Regions from separate parts of the Homo sapiens genome. Here regions 1 and 3 are each linked to region 2. The links are contacts of gene promoters, found by promoter capture Hi-C in blood cells and fetal thymus (Javierre and others, 2016). All regions are on one chromosome and are shown on one strand. The core of a region is centred on a gene start or on the middle of the fragment in contact, and the rest is flanking DNA. Distances in the headings are between cores, read along the strand shown.

Evidence for each region. The method cuts DNA at HindIII sites, captures the fragments that hold promoters and counts their contacts. A CHiCAGO score of 5 or more calls a contact.
Region 1: a fragment that was not itself captured here is called in contact with the fragment with the promoter of NFE2L2 in region 2 in 1 of 17 cell types (non-activated CD4 T cells); the score reaches 5.5 in non-activated CD4 T cells.
Region 3: a fragment that was not itself captured here is called in contact with the fragment with the promoter of NFE2L2 in region 2 in 1 of 17 cell types (non-activated CD4 T cells); the score reaches 6.8 in non-activated CD4 T cells.

Annotation. Positions count from the first base shown.
Region 1 is chr2:174,482,439-174,485,271 of GRCh38, reverse strand. The region is part of intron 1 of GPR155 (G protein-coupled receptor 155); the gene reads left to right. Among named protein-coding and RNA genes, the nearest start is that of GPR155, 3.2 kb to the left of the region's middle. The HindIII fragment of the contact is 4,228 bases long and covers 1-2,833 here.
Region 2 is chr2:177,263,464-177,266,163 of GRCh38, reverse strand. NFE2L2 (NFE2 like bZIP transcription factor 2) reads left to right here and starts at 1,437. Exons shown (of 5, transcript NM_006164.5): 1 at 1,437-1,632. The coding sequence starts at 1,588. RefSeq lists silencers at 1,294-2,163, 2,424-2,583 and an enhancer at 2,264-2,700. The HindIII fragment of the contact is 5,708 bases long and covers 1-2,700 here.
Region 3 is chr2:174,595,706-174,598,405 of GRCh38, reverse strand. WIPF1 (WAS/WASL interacting protein family member 1) reads left to right here and starts at 602. Exons shown (of 8, transcript NM_001375834.1): 1 at 602-805. RefSeq lists an enhancer at 400-579. The HindIII fragment of the contact is 390 bases long and covers 1,216-1,605 here.

The DNA.
Region 1 (2,833 bases), core at 285-2,784, 2.8 Mb after region 2:
TTGAAAGTTAATCTTGGACATTGCTACAACTATTTGACCATCACCCTGAGAAAAATGAAGAGCTCTGCCTTCACTGTTAACCATTTACTATCAAACCAAATTAAATTCAACTTATCTTAATTGTTTGGTATAAAACAAAAACTGATAAATTTATGACGCATCCCATCCCTCTTTTTTTAGTTGGTGGATCTTTTACCAGTTATGTTTGAAGAACTAACATGTTTACTTTTTTATCATTATTAGTAGTAAGACAACAGTTCCTAATAGCAATTGCTGCCGTTTTTTGAAGGCCTACTCTGTGATAAGCTGTATATAAAATATTCTATCCACACAATATCCCTCTAAGGAGGTCTTTGTTTGAGACAGGGTCTTACTCAGGCTGGAGTGCAGTGGTGTGATCATGGCTCACTGCAGAGACCTCCTAGGCTCAGGTGATCCTCCCACCTCAGCCTCCCAGGTAGCTGGGACAACAGGCACGCATGACTAAGCTCAGCTAATTTTTTGTAGAGACTAAGGTTTTGCCATGTTGGCCAGGCTGGTCTGAAACTCCTGGGCTCACACAGTCCACCTGCCTGGGCCTCTCAAAATGCTGGGATTACAGGCGTGAGCTGCTATGACTGATCCCTATAGGGAGGTTTTTACTCTCATTTTACAGTTGAGGAAACAAAGGTTCAGAAAGACTAAGTAACTTATGAGTTGATAAACCATAAAGCTCAGAATCTGTTTGACTCTCCACTGAACTTCTGCTAGTTTAAACTGTTGGTTAAAAAATATTATTGGAATGCCTTGACATGCTCGTGTTGTACAAGTAAGGGCTTATAAGCAGAATGAGTTATTAATACTCTAGGCACTTTTGAAAGTGAACAGAAGACTGGATTAATTTATCACTTTCCTGTTTAGCACTGCCTTTCCAAGTACACACCGTCTTAAGGGCTCCAAATGTTTAACGCCTTTGTTTAATTGTTTACCAGCTCCTTACTTCAAGTATGTGTATCTGTACCAACCGGTAGCTTTCCCAAGATATAATTTGATGCTTATTTGGTAAACTTCAAGTATGTGAGTAGTGTAGGTTTCATGTACTATATTGACCACTGCTATCTAATCCTAGTAGGAAAATACTTGTCCTAATCCAGATTAAATATAAGGTTTTCAAATGGTTCGGTTTATACAAGGGTAGCACAGAGAAAATTCCCTTGTACCCACGCCAGCTATCAGTTGTTGGTGATCTCTGGGCTGCCATCTAAGTCTTTTTAATGTGATATAGATGTTTGAGGACTTAACCTGAGCATTGTAAATTTCTGGAAGCATGAGCTTTTTACTTTCTACCTTATATCAGTCTACTTTAGATGGTAAACCCAGAATAATCACTTAGAAATTGGCTATTGTTGGCTGGGCGTGGTGGCTCACACCTATAATCCCAGCATTTTGGGAGGCCGAGGCGGGCAGATCACCTGAGGTTGGGAGTTTGAGACGAACCTGACCAACATGGAGAAACCCCGTCTCTACTAAAAATTCAAAATTAGCCAGGCATGGTGGTGCATGCCTGTAATCCCAGCTACTCGGGAAGGCTAAGGCAGGAGAATCTCTTGAACCTGGGAGGCGGAGGTTGAGGTGAGCCGCAATCACGCCATTACACTCCAGCCTGGGCAACAAGAACAAAACTCCATCTGAAAAAAAAAGAAAAAGAAATTGGCAATTGTCGTCATTTTAATTTCAAGATACTAATAAAAGCTGATTAGCTTTAGAGTTATCCAGACCTCATGTTCATTGTGTTCCTGGCAGCAAGAGGGGGTCTGATAATTATTGTACTATTCGTGTTTTGAATTTGTTCCATGCTTTAGCATTTTCTGAACCTCTTTAGAACATTTTACAAAACATTTTGTATTTTTTAACATTTCATGAACACCTTTAGACATATTTTGTGTTCTTGGTTCTGTTGCTGTAGTGGAAAACTTATAATACTTTATCATTCAGAAAACAAAAAAAAATTCTGTCTGTAAACTAAATAGTGCCTGAAAGAGAACATTGATCCATGAAAGGGTAAAAGGTTTAAGTATAAGTAATTATAGTTATTCATTAAAAAAAATTTTTTTTTCTGTCTCGTGTATGCCAGGTACTGTCCTAGATGTTAAGGACACAACATTGAGCAAAAACATGCATAGTCCCTGCTTCCGTGACACTTGAGTGAACTGAATGTGCAAAGTCCCTGTGGCACAAAGTCCCTGGGGCCAGTGTGTGTGGCGGGTGTAGAAGGAGCTAAAGGTATATTGGTGGGAGGTCGTCATTTTTTTCTCTCTCTCATGTTCTACCAAAAGTTATATTTAACTTCCGTTAAGTAATTACTCTGTTCCAGATGTGATTATAAAGACTTCAGTGGAATAATCGCAAGTTCCCATGTGGTAGGTATTACTATTATTGCCATTTTACAGGTGAAGAAGGTGAGACACAGAAAAGTTAAAGTTAATTCGTTCAGGTCGGGCACAGTGGCTCATGCCTGTAATCCCAGCACTGTGGGATGCTGAGGCAGGCAGATCACCTGAGGTCAGGAGTTCAAAACCAGCCTAAGCAACATGTCGCTACAAAAATACAAAAATTAGCCGGGCGTGGTGGCACACGAATCGCTTGAACCCAGGAGACAGAGGTTGCACTGAGCTGAGATTGCACCACTGCACTCCAGCCTGGGAGACAGAGCAAGACCCTGTCTTTAGAAAAAAAAGTTATTGGTTTAAAGTTGATTAGTAGTGCTCTACTATACCCTTCTTCCCATCCTATATTCAAATATGACCACGGGCTGGAAAGGACTCTGGTCCCTGGGTGACTCCTCAATGTAGCC
Region 2 (2,700 bases), core at 188-2,687:
TCTCAAGGAATATCTGAATATACAAATTTACACATAAATCCTGGGAGTGTCAAATTATGCAACCTAGAGAAAGTAAGCTCTGCAGCTTTTTGGGCGTTGATTGCTATAGTCAGGGGTGTGTGTGTGGTTTTTGAATGAAATAGCAAAACCACTGCCAGTATTATCTACTTCACCTGGTTTTGAATAATTCCAGGAAGCTAGAAACTGAAAACCAGTCTTGTATAGAGTTAGAAAGATTGTAAATGCAGAAGAGGAAGAAAAAAACAAAACTAAACCATTTATCTATCCTCTTTGAACCCTTATAAGAGTTCACAATATTCCTCGTTTCAAATACTTGAAGTCTTCTCTGGGCAATGATTAATTTTTAAATAATTGTTTTTAATGTAAGACATAAAACATACGCACTGCAGATTTAAAGCATACTTGGAAGTAACAAGGAGAAACATAAAAATCGTTGATTCCACAGCATTTAATATATTGGTAACCTTCAATTTTTTTCTAGGCACGTTTTTATAAAATGAGCCAATACTATACAAACGTTTTTGTAACTTTTTTTAATTTGTACTATTTTGTGAGTACGTGAAAAAGAAATTTGTAAAGAGTAAACGATTACAGCATGTTGTGGTATTACACACTGTTGAAGGGCGCCATCTGTGGCGTGGTGGCTGCGCTTTGGTGGGAAGAGGTTCTCTTGGGGTTCCCGTTTTTCTCCCAGCTCTGGGTGGGCAATACTGACCACTCTCCGACCTAAAGGGGCTTCTCCGTTTGCCTTTGACGACCTGAGCTTAGGAGAATGGAGACACGTGGGAGTTCAGAGGAGGGCGTTCAGGGTGACTGCGAACACGAGCTGCCGGAGCTGTCCACATCTCCCCTAGGCAGGGCCCACTGGCCCCAGCCCGGGAAGGGAGCAAGGGCGGGAGGGCAGTTGGCAGTGGCACGGTCTGGGTCCAAATCTTTAGCCCCCCCCACCCCGGCTGGCGCCATTCTCGGGCGGTAAAGTGAGATAAAAGCAGGGCAAGGTTCTGCAACTCCAAATCAGGGAGGCGCAGCTCCTACACCAACGCCTTTCCGGGGCTCCGGGTGTGTTTGTTCCAACTGTTTAAACTGTTTCAAAGCGTCCGAACTCCAGCGACCTTCGCAAACAACTCTTTATCTCGCGGGCGAGAGCGCTGCCCTTATTTGCGGGGGAGGGCAAACTGAACGCCGGCACCGGGGAGCTAACGGAGACCTCCTCTAGGTCCCCCGCCTGCTGGGACCCCAGCTGGCAGTCCCTTCCCGCCCCCGGACCGCGAGCTTCTTGCGTCAGCCCCGGCGCGGGTGGGGGATTTTCGGAAGCTCAGCCCGCGCGGCCGGCGGGGGAAGGAAGGGCCCGGACTCTTGCCCCGCCCTTGTGGGGCGGGAGGCGGAGCGGGGCAGGGGCCCGCCGGCGTGTAGCCGATTACCGAGTGCCGGGGAGCCCGGAGGAGCCGCCGACGCAGCCGCCACCGCCGCCGCCGCCGCCACCAGAGCCGCCCTGTCCGCGCCGCGCCTCGGCAGCCGGAACAGGGCCGCCGTCGGGGAGCCCCAACACACGGTCCACAGCTCATCATGATGGACTTGGAGCTGCCGCCGCCGGGACTCCCGTCCCAGCAGGTGCTGCCTCGGCCCTCTGGGCCCTGCGGTGGTGCCGGGACGGGGGCGGGGGAGCTAGGGAACCGCGGCCCGGGAGGGACAGCCGCAACCGGCTTCCCCCACGTCTGGCCAGAGCCAGGACCGCGGCGCTGGGTAGAGCCGCCGCGCTTGCGCCGGGGCAGGGCGGGGAGGGGCAGCGGGGACGCGGCCGGGTGATCCGACCGACCACGAGCCCGAGGGCGAACGGGTGGGAAGTTGCGGGAAGGTCTGGGGACTGAGCCCGCTCGCGTGGGCCTTGGGGGAGAATCCAGCCGCGTCCCCGGGCCCGAGAGCTGGGACTCCGGAGCCCCTAAGTTTGAGCGGCCCGGTGGGCGGCGGGGCAAGAGGGGGCGGACGCTGGCCGTCTGAGCCGGCGCGGCCCGGCCCTTCCGGGGCTGCGCGGCTCCCCCGCCTCGGTGCCGGCAAAAATGTGCCTAGTCACGGGGCCGCTCTCGGGGGAACTGAGGTCGCCTTCGGGCTGGGACCCGGAGCCCCTTCGCCGCGCCCCAAGACCTCCTTGAGTGCGGGCTGCGACGCGCTCACCCCGCTGGGCCGTCTGTGGGCGCGGCTTTGCGAAGTCATCCATCTCTCGGATCACTCTCTGGCAGCCTTGAGCTCTCTTGAAAGCCCAGCCCCGGGACGAGGGAGGAGCGCCTTAAGTGCCCAGCGGGCTCAGAAGCCCCGACGTGTGGCGGCTGAGCCGGGCCCCGCGCACTTTCTCGGCCGGGGAGGGGTTCGGGCTCGGGCACCCGGAGTTGGCCCCTCGTAACGCCGCGGGAAAGTGCGGGCGAGGGCAGTGGACTCTGAGGCCGGAGTCGGCGGCACCCGGGGCTTCTAGTTCGGACGCGGTGCCCCCTGGTGGCGCTCACCGCGCGCGTGGCCTTGGCTTCCGTGACAGCGCTCGGTTGGCCGTCACAGCAGCCCTCGGTTGGCCCTTTCCTGCTTTATAGCGTGCAAACCTCGCCGCGCCAGGGCCAAGGGACAGGTTGGAGCTGTTGATCTGTTGCGCAATTGCTATTTTCCCCAGAGCGGCTTTGTCTTTGGATTTAG
Region 3 (2,700 bases), core at 161-2,660, 2.7 Mb after region 2:
CAGGAGGTCAGGGCCACAGGGAGCTATGATTACGCCACTGCACTCCAGCCTAAGTGACAGCAAGACTGTCTCTCTAAAAAAAAAGAAATAAATAAAACAAAACCAAAAAAAGAACCTCATTTGCCTTCATACACCTGACCTGCTCTCTTTACCTGCATTTGTAACTTTCTCCCCACACACTTGAATGCCCTGTAAATGAGAAGAAGCCCTTAGCCTAATGAAGCGATAAGGTAAGGTAGGTAAGAGCTTTTCTTTCTTGAGTGACTCTTTTCCCTATTACTCAATGGAATAGTCAGTATTTACAGTGATACTTTCAAATATAATTTTCCTAAAGGAATCTCAAGTTCCATGAACAGTTATTTTTGTGGGAATATCTAGAATAAAGTTGGACTCTTCACTGAGTGGAGGTGCTCATCTCCTCTTGTCACTGTACCAAATAGCTGTGTATTACACCTTGTGGGGAGGAGAAACATTTAATTTTTTTTAATTTAGGTTTTTTTTCTTGCTTGCTTCTTAAGCAAAACCAATCTAGTTTCTTTTTCTGCAGCAAAGGAGGAAGGAACAACAAACAACAAATTAATCAGACAGGAAGCGAATAACCACAGAAGGACGTCTGCCTCTGACTCAGTATGTCACATTTAACAAGAGGCCAGAGCTTGTCCAAAATGGCTGTCCAAAAACGACCCCACACTTGCGTTAGAAGATGATACCTTTTTCAGGGACAGTTTTCTCTCTTGGCTCCTGTCCCGCTGGCCCTCTGTCTGCCTGTGTCCCTGACCATGGCTCCCTGCAGTACCCTTTAACGGTAAGAAAAATTATATTCAAACTAAGTTTATTTCATTTATCAGCTACAGGGAAGAACTAAATGGCTTTTAATGGACCATAGTATGTCAAGATAAAGTTGTTTAATTTTTCTGTAGAGCACCATGTGAGCTATTCCTGTTGCCCAGAATGCTAGTTTCACCACTATGGTGATTGTGAATGATTCATAACTTATGCTTTGAGCCAAAATGTAAGCAAGATTTTCAATAGAATTTTTTTGACCACTGGACAAGTTTGGATCCACAGGAATTTATTTTCCCATTTAAATTGGGGGCTTATGTCGGTAAATATATCCTTTTGGTGTATGATACAGTTGTCCACACAACTGCCTTTGAATCTTTGGTGTGGCCAGCAACAATAAGTGCTTTAAAGTACAAGGAGCCATTGGAAGCTTCAAACGAAAATACCATGGAACTAAGCTGTTGCAGTTCTGTTGCTGCCAATGTGCTATTTAAGTTCAAAACTCAAACTAAACCATTTCTAAGCAGAGTCTTTTATAATACGATTTGTCTTTTAGAATAAGTCTATTCCTGTTATAACAGTGTGTGCACAATTACTATCGCAAATCAAATTCTACAGCATTAGTTATAACTTTATGTTTAATATGATTAATGTTTTGGCATAAAATATTGTGATTTTTAAAATTTCAAGCCATCTACTCAGAGGCTTATAGAGCAGAACTAAGGAAACTTTTTACATTAAAAAACTTTTTTCTAGAATATGTAGGAAGAAACAATTTGACTTATGTTCCTTTCTCCCCGTGAAGAAATATAAAATAAAGCTTTAAAAAACTCAGAAGGCACATATAACTTTAGTCACTAAGTACAAGTTTTTTGTTTTTTTTGTTTTTGTATTTTTAGTAGAGACAGGGTTTCATCATGTTGGTCAGGCTGGTCTCAAACTCCTGACCTCAAGTGATCTGCCCGCCTCGGCCTCCCAAAGTGCTGGGATTACAGGCATACAAGTTATTTTAAATAATTTAATGGCATAACTAGTATATGTAGTAGAGAATGGAGAGGTGGTAAATGAAAAGGCTACTGAAAGATTCTAACTAAGCAAAGTAAGACAGCTTGGTAGAGAGAAAGATGAAAGACTGGGGAAAGAATAGGACAGGACAGTGAGAAAGGAAGATGAGAAACTGGGAAAAGGTTTTGAGGTTGATCTGTGTGGAAATCATACTCTTACAATTCACTTGGACTACAGTGCTATGTGTTAACTTTATCAAGCTTTGTTCTTCTGTACTGGAATATCATCATGTCAAAACTCTTCCTTTTATCAGTCTAAGGTCATTAAATGACTTACCTGAAAGTCATTTTTCACTAAGTCAGGTTTTCTATTGCTCTTTGAAAAGTTTATTCATGGGCTATTTGCTCATAGCGCTTCAGCTACTCTAATATCTAACCTTTTAAGGGTTACACATACTCTGGGTGGACTGAAATATTCAGAGAACTCCCTGTGGTGAAAATTAGTTCCTGGGATCGAGCAGCAACTTCAGATCTGATCAAATTCTAAATCTGGCCTGTAGGCTGGAAGTTCCCCAGCCTACCTAAAATATGAGATGAAGTGATACTGAATTCCTGGACCCTTTAAGTGTTATGACCTTTTGAAGCCTTCTTAACATTTTATGAACACACATCATTTACTTTGGAAGTTTCTGGCTGTTTAAATTATGATATATTTCTGCTTTAAGGTTTGACTCATTTTGTCCAAATTGTTAAACATGTGCTTGTTGTTGAAGAAAGCATTTCTCCTGGACTTCCATAAATACCTCTGTCTGTCCTGAAAATTAAAACTGTAAAAAAATACTAGAATAAGGAATGCCTTAATCAGTATGCTTTTCTGAGAAATTTGAAATGCACTTTATACACATCTCCCTTC